Regions from separate parts of the Homo sapiens genome. Here all the other regions are linked to region 3. The links are contacts of gene promoters, found by promoter capture Hi-C in human tissues and cell types (Jung and others, 2019). All regions are on one chromosome and are shown on one strand. The core of a region is centred on a gene start or on the middle of the fragment in contact, and the rest is flanking DNA. Distances in the headings are between cores, read along the strand shown. Region 1 overlaps LOC107987108 (a long non-coding RNA gene). Region 2 overlaps LOC107987108 (a long non-coding RNA gene). Region 3 holds the start of ZNF462 (zinc finger protein 462).

Region 1 (2,700 bases), core at 54-2,553, 910 kb after region 3:
GGAAATTTTAGTACTAAATACTAAAACATCTCAAATGAAAAATTCAGTGGATGGTCCTAATAGCAAAATGGAGATTAAAGGAAACAGTCAGTGAATTTGAAGATAGGTCAATAAACATCATCTAATTTGAATAAGAGAGGTAGGGGAAATTAAAAAAAAAATAAGCAGAACCTCAGGGACCCATGAAATAATTTCAATACATCTTACCAAGAAAGACAATGGGGCAGGTAAATATTTTAAAGATAAATACCAGAAAACGTCTCCAATTTTTTTAAGATGGAAATGTACAGATCTAGGAAGCTCAAAAAGCCTCAAAGGGAATTAATGCAAAGAAATCCATATCTAAGTACATTATAGCCAAACTGATGTTCAGGGAAGAGAAAGACAAAAATTTGAAAGCAGCCAGAAAAGAACATCACGTTCCATATAGGAGAACAGTGATAGAAATTATCACAAACTTTTCTCACAAACCTTTCCCAGAAACTATAGAGGCTAGAAGACAGTGGAACATCTTTAACATGTTACAAGAAAATAACTGTCATCCTAGAATTCTAAATTCAGTGAAGCTTGCTTCAAAAAGGAAAGTGAGATAAAGACATTTTTAGGTAATGAAAAACTAAGGAAATTGGTCTCCACCAGAACTGTACAAAAAGGTCTTCAAGTTGAAGGAAATGATATCAAGGGAAAACTTAGATTTTCAGGAATGAATGAAGAGTAGGAAATATAAATGGTAAATATATGGGTAAATGAAAACACTTTCTTCTTTTAATTTCTTTAGAATTCAAAGGATATTTCACAGCAAAAAGTATGACATTTTCTTGTAGGATTTACATGTACTTAGATGTAATATATGTGACAACTATAACTTAAAGAGTGGTAAGATAGAAAGTAAATAGACCTATCTATGTATTACAATAATTCTACTTTTTATCATATTAGGACTGCATAAACTGTGAAAAGAATGTATAGAACAAACATGTTTTTGAAATGTACAGAAATATAATTTGAAATGAATAAGTGTCCTAAAATGGAAATTAAGATATTGAAATAACCCAAAAGAAGGTAAGATGAGGGTGGGACAAATGAGAGGGATTCAAAATATATAAAAAATAAAATGGCTACCTAAATTCAACCATATCAGTAATTATATTAAATGTTAATTGAACTGAACACTGCAATTAAAGGGCACAGGTTATCAGAATGGATTTTTTAAAATGAAGACCCAACCAAATTCTATCTACAAGAGACATATCTTAAATATAAATTTAAAAGTTGAAAGTAAATGGACAGAAAAAGACACACCATATGAAGAGTCACCATAATAAGGCTACAGTGGTTGTGATAATAGCAGATAAAATAGATCTCAAGAGTATTAGAAAAAAAATGAAGAATATTTTATAATAATAAAAGGATTAATTCATCAGAAAGGCATAGCAATTATAAATGTGTGTGTCCCTAATAACAGAATTTTAAAATAAGCAAATCAAAAATTGATAAGATTAAAGCGAGAAATAGATGATTCTACAATCAGAGCAGGAGAATTTAATACCCCTCTTTCAGCAAATTACTTAAAAACTAGAAAAAAAAACAAGTAGATACATAGAATAACTGAACATGTCATTCGTTTTTGCCTAATTTGTATTTATAGAACTTTACACCCAATAACTACACAATACATATTATTTTCAAATATACTTGATACATTCACCAATATAGAACATATGTTATGTCATAATGCAAGTTTCGATAAATTTCAAAGGATTGAAGTTATACAAAGTATGGTCTTTGACCACAAAAGACTAAATTATAAATCAATAACAATAATATAGCTAGAATATTACAAATGTTTGGAAATTGGACAACAGATATCTCAATAATCCATGGGTCAAATAAAAATCAAAGAATTAGAAAATATTTGAAACCAAATGATAATAAAAATACAACATAGAAATAAATTTGTGGGATGCAGTAAAGGCAGTAGAGGGAAATTTATGACTTTAAATGTTCATGTCAGGAAAAAGAAAAAAGAATAACTTGTAATTAATGACCTTGAGAAGCTAGTGAAAAAAAAGAACAAAGTAAATCCAAAGCAGACAGAAGAAAGTAAATAAAAAGCAAAAATCAATGAAATAGGAAATAAACAATAAATAAAATAAAGCCAAAAGATGATTCTTTAATTTAAAAAAATTCCTACATCTCTAGCTGAACTGAGTTGAAAGTGGTGGAAAGGGGAAGACGCAAATTACCAATATCAGGAATAAGAAGGAATATCAGGAATAAAAAACTATAAATAGTACACATATTAAAAAGATAAGAAAAATTGACAAGTTAAATGTAATAAACATACATTTTGAAAACTAGTAAAGCACAATCAAGAAGAAATAGATAACCTGATATCTACTAAAGAGATGAAATTACTTGTTTCAAAAAAAAACCTTTCTATAAAAATTTTATTTAAAAGCCTTCAGGGCAAGATATCCCTGCTGGTGAATTCTACCAAATATATGAGGAATAGAAAAATAACAATTCTACACAAACTCCTCCAGAAAACAGGAAAAAAGAGTAGCATCATTATCCTGATACTAAAATTACATAAGATATTACAATTTTAAAAACTATAGATTCATATCCTTCATAAACACAGGTACAAAAACTTTTAGCAAGTTAAACCTAGCAATGTATCAAAGGAATAGTTAATAT
Region 2 (2,700 bases), core at 33-2,532, 540 kb after region 3:
CTGATTGTCGTCTACGAACTGGTTACTTTCTAGATGAGAAGAACTTGACTGGTTTCAGCTTATGTTACAGGCAGAAGAGGGGTTCTGAGATGTTTGCAGTTCTTTTGTCCTGGCTTTAAGTTAAAAAAAAATGTGCTTCCAGTCTGCTCCCTGGATCTTGTATGAAATATTCAGCCCACTAAGTGCTATTTGTAAAGCATTTATCAAAAGGCTAGGAGTGATGGATTCCCTCCTCTCCTCTCGAGCTTACAGCCTTCTTTTACCCTGATTTCTCTGTAGGAGAGAATGATTTATGTTCTGTTGTACCTTCAGCTCTTTCAGACCAGGATTGCAAATTCTTGGGATGAGTTCACATGCATAATCCCCCAACATGTGCATGTGCAGACACACACATACACACACACACAAAATCAATTCAGGAATTCTAAATATTTAGACAGATACCCATTATGCAAAATATTTTAGAACCATCTATATAGAGACTTTAAAAAATATGAACAGAACAAATTCAAGAGTTTTAATTTGTATATTTAATCTAATTTGGACAATTGCATTAGAGCATTAAAATTTTACATTTTCTTTTTACTACTTTACCTTCATCAAAAGTCATCATCCTCTGCCCATACAGGCTGGTATATGCTCAAATGATGAAAGGAAGCTTGGGCAGTCCCACAATTAGATAAAGGCAAAATTGCCTATGGAAATGACCAAACCCTTAATTAGCTAATTGCAGGTGCAATTGGCCACTTGCACCATCAGTTGAAGGGCAAGTGGTTAATTGAGCCCACAAGTGACCTACTCAATCAGAACTAACAAATGGCTCATCAGATGAGGTCTCAGCCAAAATGTGTCTGCAAACAATAGCATGTGCAAAAAAATGCTCAAATCAGAGGCAGCAGTTGGGCTAAAAATAAAACCCCCAAAACAAGAGATAATTAGAAAAATAATCAAAATCAGAAAAATTCAATAATGAGCCATGATCATGGGAGGAGTGAGAAAGATGGGTGATGCAGCCATTTGAGGAATCAAAGGCCATAGATGCTGGAAAGAGCATCAGCTTTGGATCATCCTTAATCATTCTTATTCAGAAATTTTAGAAAAACGTGCCACTTTCTTCCATGGTGGGTTCTTGTTCATAGTGGGATTCCAAAGAGCTCATCACAAGATCCCATAAAGAATAGGGGATTGGGAAATGTAAATGAATGACTGAATGGATGACACTGCATTTGCTTATAGAAGACTAAGAGCACAAGTACAGCTACTTCATTAAATTGATGGTACTGAAGAGTTTGTTGGCTTTCCCCTCTACTGAACATTTTTGGTTTGACTGTGTTGCTACTATGTACAATTTAGGAAATGTTTCCTAATTTGTTGGTAGGAGAACATACCAATGACTATGAAGATATTGACAGAAGTAATAATAATGATTTGCACTCATCAGTATAGGCTGTACTAAATAAAGGTATAAACCCCGAAATAGTAGCCCAAAACAATAATGTATTTTTCTTGCAAAATCCATTCTAGGTATGCCTCTGGTTTATTTCTCCTCACCAATAAAGATTCTTTCTTTTTTTTTTTTATTATACTTTAAGTTGTAGGGTACATGTGCACATTGTGCAGGTTAGTTACATATGTATACATGTGCCATGCTGGTGCGCTGCACCCACTAACTCGTCATCTAGCATTAGGTATATCTCCCAATGCTATCCCTCCCCCCTCCTCCCACCCCACCACAGTCCCCAGAGTGTGATATTCCCCTTCCTGTGTCCATGTGATCTCATTGTTCAATTCCCACCTATGAGTGAGAATATGCGGTGTTTGGTTTTTTTGTTCTTGTGATAATTTACTGAGAATGATGATTTCCAATTTCATCCATGTCCCTACAAAGGACATGAACTCATCATTTTTTATGGCTGCATAGTATTCCATGGTGTATATGTGCCACATTTTCTTAATCCAGTCTATCATTGTTGGACATTTGGGTTGGTTCCAAGTCTTTGCTATTGTGAATAATGCCGCAATAAACATACGTGTGCATGTGTCTTTATAGCAGCAAGATTTATAGTCCTTTGGGTATATACCCAGTAATGGGATGGCTGGGTCAAATGGTATTTCTAGTTCTAGATCCCTGAGGAATCGCCACACTGACTTCCACAATGGTTGAACTAGTTTACAGTCAATAAAGATTCTTTCACTCTGTGATTCAGCTATCCTGACAAAGGACTTAGCCTTCACCCCTCAAGAGGGCAGAAAAGCAAAGACCTGTGCAATGAAATAGGGCTTTTCACTGACTCAGCTTGTACATGTCTTCTGCTCACACTTTATTGGCCAGAATTAGTCTTGTGCTCTTGTCTAACTGCAAGTGTTAGGGAGTATGGAGCTTCCACCTGCCCAGAAAAGAAGAGACCTGAAATAGGGTTGGGTAAACTCGTGGCATTTTCTCTGTCACAGAATCCAAAAACAAGGAAGAATAAATAATCTGTCTATTTGGAAATTTAAGCATACCTTTTGATAGAATGCTAGGTTAAAGAAGTAATCAAAATGTAATGTGAAAATAATTCAGAAATGATAAAAAGGAGAGCCTTTCATAATAAAACATGTGGACAGAAGCCAAATGGGGTGCACAAAAGGAAATGCAAAGCCATAGAACTCTGTATAACAAAAAAAGTAGACTGAAAATAAACGAGTCAGACCCTCACC
Region 3 (2,700 bases), core at 108-2,607:
AAAGCAGACAGCTTGCAAATGGAGGACAGGGAGATAAAGAAAGGGAAAGAGGGGCTGCTCCAATGGGGGGCGGCTGCGGCTTCCCCTCGTGCCTGGAAGGAGGGCAGACCCCTGGGAACTGCACCAGGAGTGAGACGCCCCCCCAGGCCCCTGCCTTCCTTTCTCCCTTCCTCAGAGGAGAGCCAAGCGTGTGTAATGGCTTCTCCTCTCCAGAAACCGTTGTCCTCCTCCACCAGACGCTTCTGAACCTCCAGCCTGGAGACAGCTCCTCAGCCGCTCCTGAACCTGCGCCCCCCACCCGGCCGGTGCCCCCCGCTCCTCGCCTCTCTGTTCACCAGCAGCACCGGCACCAGCAGCTGCAGCAGCCACCCCCCGACACATCCCGACCCCGCATCCCAACTTCGGGGAGAGGGAGAGAGAGAGAGAGAGAGAGAGAGAGAGAGAGAGAGAGAGAGAGAGAGAGAGAGAGAGAGAGAGAGAGAGCCAAATACCTGAGGAAGAGGGGGGCTGCCAATCCGCACGGCTTTGCCATCGGGCGGGGGACAGGCAGACAGAAGGGGGAAAGGAAGGAGAGGGACAGAGAAAGAAAGAGGTCAACCCGCTCAGGTCGGGGCCGCTCGCACGGAGCTCTCCCTCCTCTGACCCTCGCTCGCTCCCTCTGGCTCTCGGCTCAGGTCTCCGGCCTCCCGCCCTCCGCCCCCCTCTGTCCCTACTCCTGTCCCCACACTCGGAGCATCCGTCCTAAGCCTCCAGCTCTCTTCTCACTCATCTTTCATTTTCTCTTCTCTTCATAGAACTACACGAAATTAATTAAGCCACCGCGCTCACTCCCCCCAGCAGGAGCAGCAGCCAGCAGGAAAAGCACAGCCACCTCCACTGCCACCACTACCACCTTCTCCTCCTCTTCCTCCTCCTCCTCTTCCTCCCTCGCTTCTCCTCCTCCTCTTCCTCCTCCCCCTCCTGCTCTCCCTCCTCCCCCTCCTCCTCTTCTCTCTCGCTTCTTCTCCTCTTCCAACAGCCAGTCCATGCAGGGGACTTCCTCTCCTCCCCGCTCCTCCAACCCTCCTTGGCCGAATGAATGAGCGCGTTTGTGCCTCCACCACCCCGCGCTCTCTTCCCCGGAGCACTCGGACCACCCCGAGGTGGTTGTTAATTGCAGTAACTTACAGAAGAAGCGTCCCGGCGCCGGGAGGTGCTTCGGGTTCTCCAGCCCCACCGCCTCCTTATCCTCTTTCTCTTTCTCCTCTTCCTGCTCGGGTTATTGTTGTGGAAGTTGTTTGGGAGTCTCATGTGCTTCTGCCGGGTCTCAGCAATGGAGGATCGCCATCTTCCCTGCCTTCCTCGGCTCCTCAGACTCGCTGCAGCTGCAGATGACCTGAGATATCCGTCTCTCTCCCTCTCTCTCTCTCTCCCTCCCTCCCTCTCCCTCTCACTCTCTCTCTCCCCTCTCTCTCCTCTTCTCTCTCCTCTCCTCCCTCTCCCTCGCGCGCTCTCTCTCTCTCCCTCCCTCTGTGTCTCTCTCTGAATAATGAGCAACCAGGGGGAGAGAGAAAGCAAGACAGAAAGAGAGAAGGAAGACAATCTTCTCCTGCCACACAAAACGCCGGAGCACCAGGGGGTGCGCGAAGCCTTTCTAATAACAACAACAACGTGCAGCAGAGAGGAAGGAAAAAAAGAAAGAAAGAAAGAAATGAGGAAAAAGGCTAGGGGAAAAAAGAGGAAGAATTATCCAAGAGCTCGAGAAGAGCAGAAGGAGAAGCTGGAGGAGATGCTGAGGCTGCTGCTGCTGTTCCCCCTCCCCCCTGCTGAACCCCAGAAGGAGGCAAGGTGGTTGCAAAGTTAAGGCTGGGACATTGTCTTTGTCACTCAGAGCCAGGCCAGTGAGATGCAAGAGGAGGAGGTGGCGGCGGCAGAGGAGGAGGAGGTGGTGGTGGAGGAGGGGGAGGAAGAGGAGGAGAAGGAGGCAAAGGAGAAGGAGGCAAAGGAGAAGGAGAAGGGGAAGAGGGAGATGAGATGATGAATAAAGACCTGCGGAGAAGGCGGTGCGAGGAGCGCGGCCGCCGGGCCGAGGCGTGCGCGCTCGCGTCCCGGTGGCGCCCGGCAGCCCTGGCCCGCAGAGGAAGCCCCCGGTGAGGACCCTGCCCGGCAGCTCATAGCGCTCCCAACGTCAGCCCTGCCCGAGGCGCCGAGCCCGAGCCCCAGAGGGTCCCTTACTTGCATCCATCTAGAGGCCAACCTTTGCAAAGAACATACGTGGGGAACTGGAGGTTGCAAGTATAAACCCAGATCAACCACGTGGGGCTTTTTAATCCCTTTCCAGCTTGCGGTGTGAGTATTTCCAGTGAAAAGCTCAAATTGTCCATTACTGGCACGTATTTTGAAGTCTTCTCTCCTGAAATAAAGGCTCATTGTGCGTTTTATTTCTTTCCTGATATGGAAGGTGGGGGGGTGGAGGAGGAAAAGAGCCCATCATTCCGAGCTTCGGAACCACCACTTTCTTTTCCTAACTTGTGAAATGTTTTGACTGCGCACCAAAAGAAAAAAAGAACGCCTGCTTAAATAACTTTACACCCTCCAGCCCCGCGTTGTTTGCACTTTCTGGCTGATCATCTAAAGGCTCGGAAAGTAACAATCAGCGCTCTTAATGATAAGGTGTCATGGTGTTGAAGACACGCGAGCCAAGATGAAGCTTTCACACCT

The links. Contacts are between HindIII fragments. The study calls those that stand out against the background at their distance.
Region 1: a contact is called between a fragment that was not itself captured here and the fragment with the promoter of ZNF462 in region 3, in 2 of the 25 tissues and cell types used here (dorsolateral prefrontal cortex and lymphoblastoid cells).
Region 2: a contact is called between a fragment that was not itself captured here and the fragment with the promoter of ZNF462 in region 3, in 1 of the 25 tissues and cell types used here (dorsolateral prefrontal cortex).

Annotation. Positions count from the first base shown.
Region 1 is chr9:105,951,432-105,954,131 of GRCh38, reverse strand. The region is part of intron 2 of LOC107987108 (a long non-coding RNA gene); the gene reads right to left. Among named protein-coding and RNA genes, the nearest start is that of TMEM38B, 260 kb to the right of the region's middle. The HindIII fragment of the contact is 3,247 bases long and covers 1-2,700 here.
Region 2 is chr9:106,319,177-106,321,876 of GRCh38, reverse strand. The region is part of intron 3 of LOC107987108 (a long non-coding RNA gene); the gene reads right to left. LOC124902240 (a long non-coding RNA gene) reads right to left here. Exons shown (of 2, transcript XR_007061716.1): 2 at 1-2,700. Among named protein-coding and RNA genes, the nearest start is that of MIR8081, 280 kb to the left of the region's middle. The HindIII fragment of the contact is 4,527 bases long and covers 1-2,700 here.
Region 3 is chr9:106,861,823-106,864,522 of GRCh38, reverse strand. ZNF462 (zinc finger protein 462) reads right to left here and starts at 1,357. Exons shown (of 13, transcript NM_021224.6): 1 at 1,168-1,357. The HindIII fragment of the contact is 13,314 bases long and covers 1-2,700 here.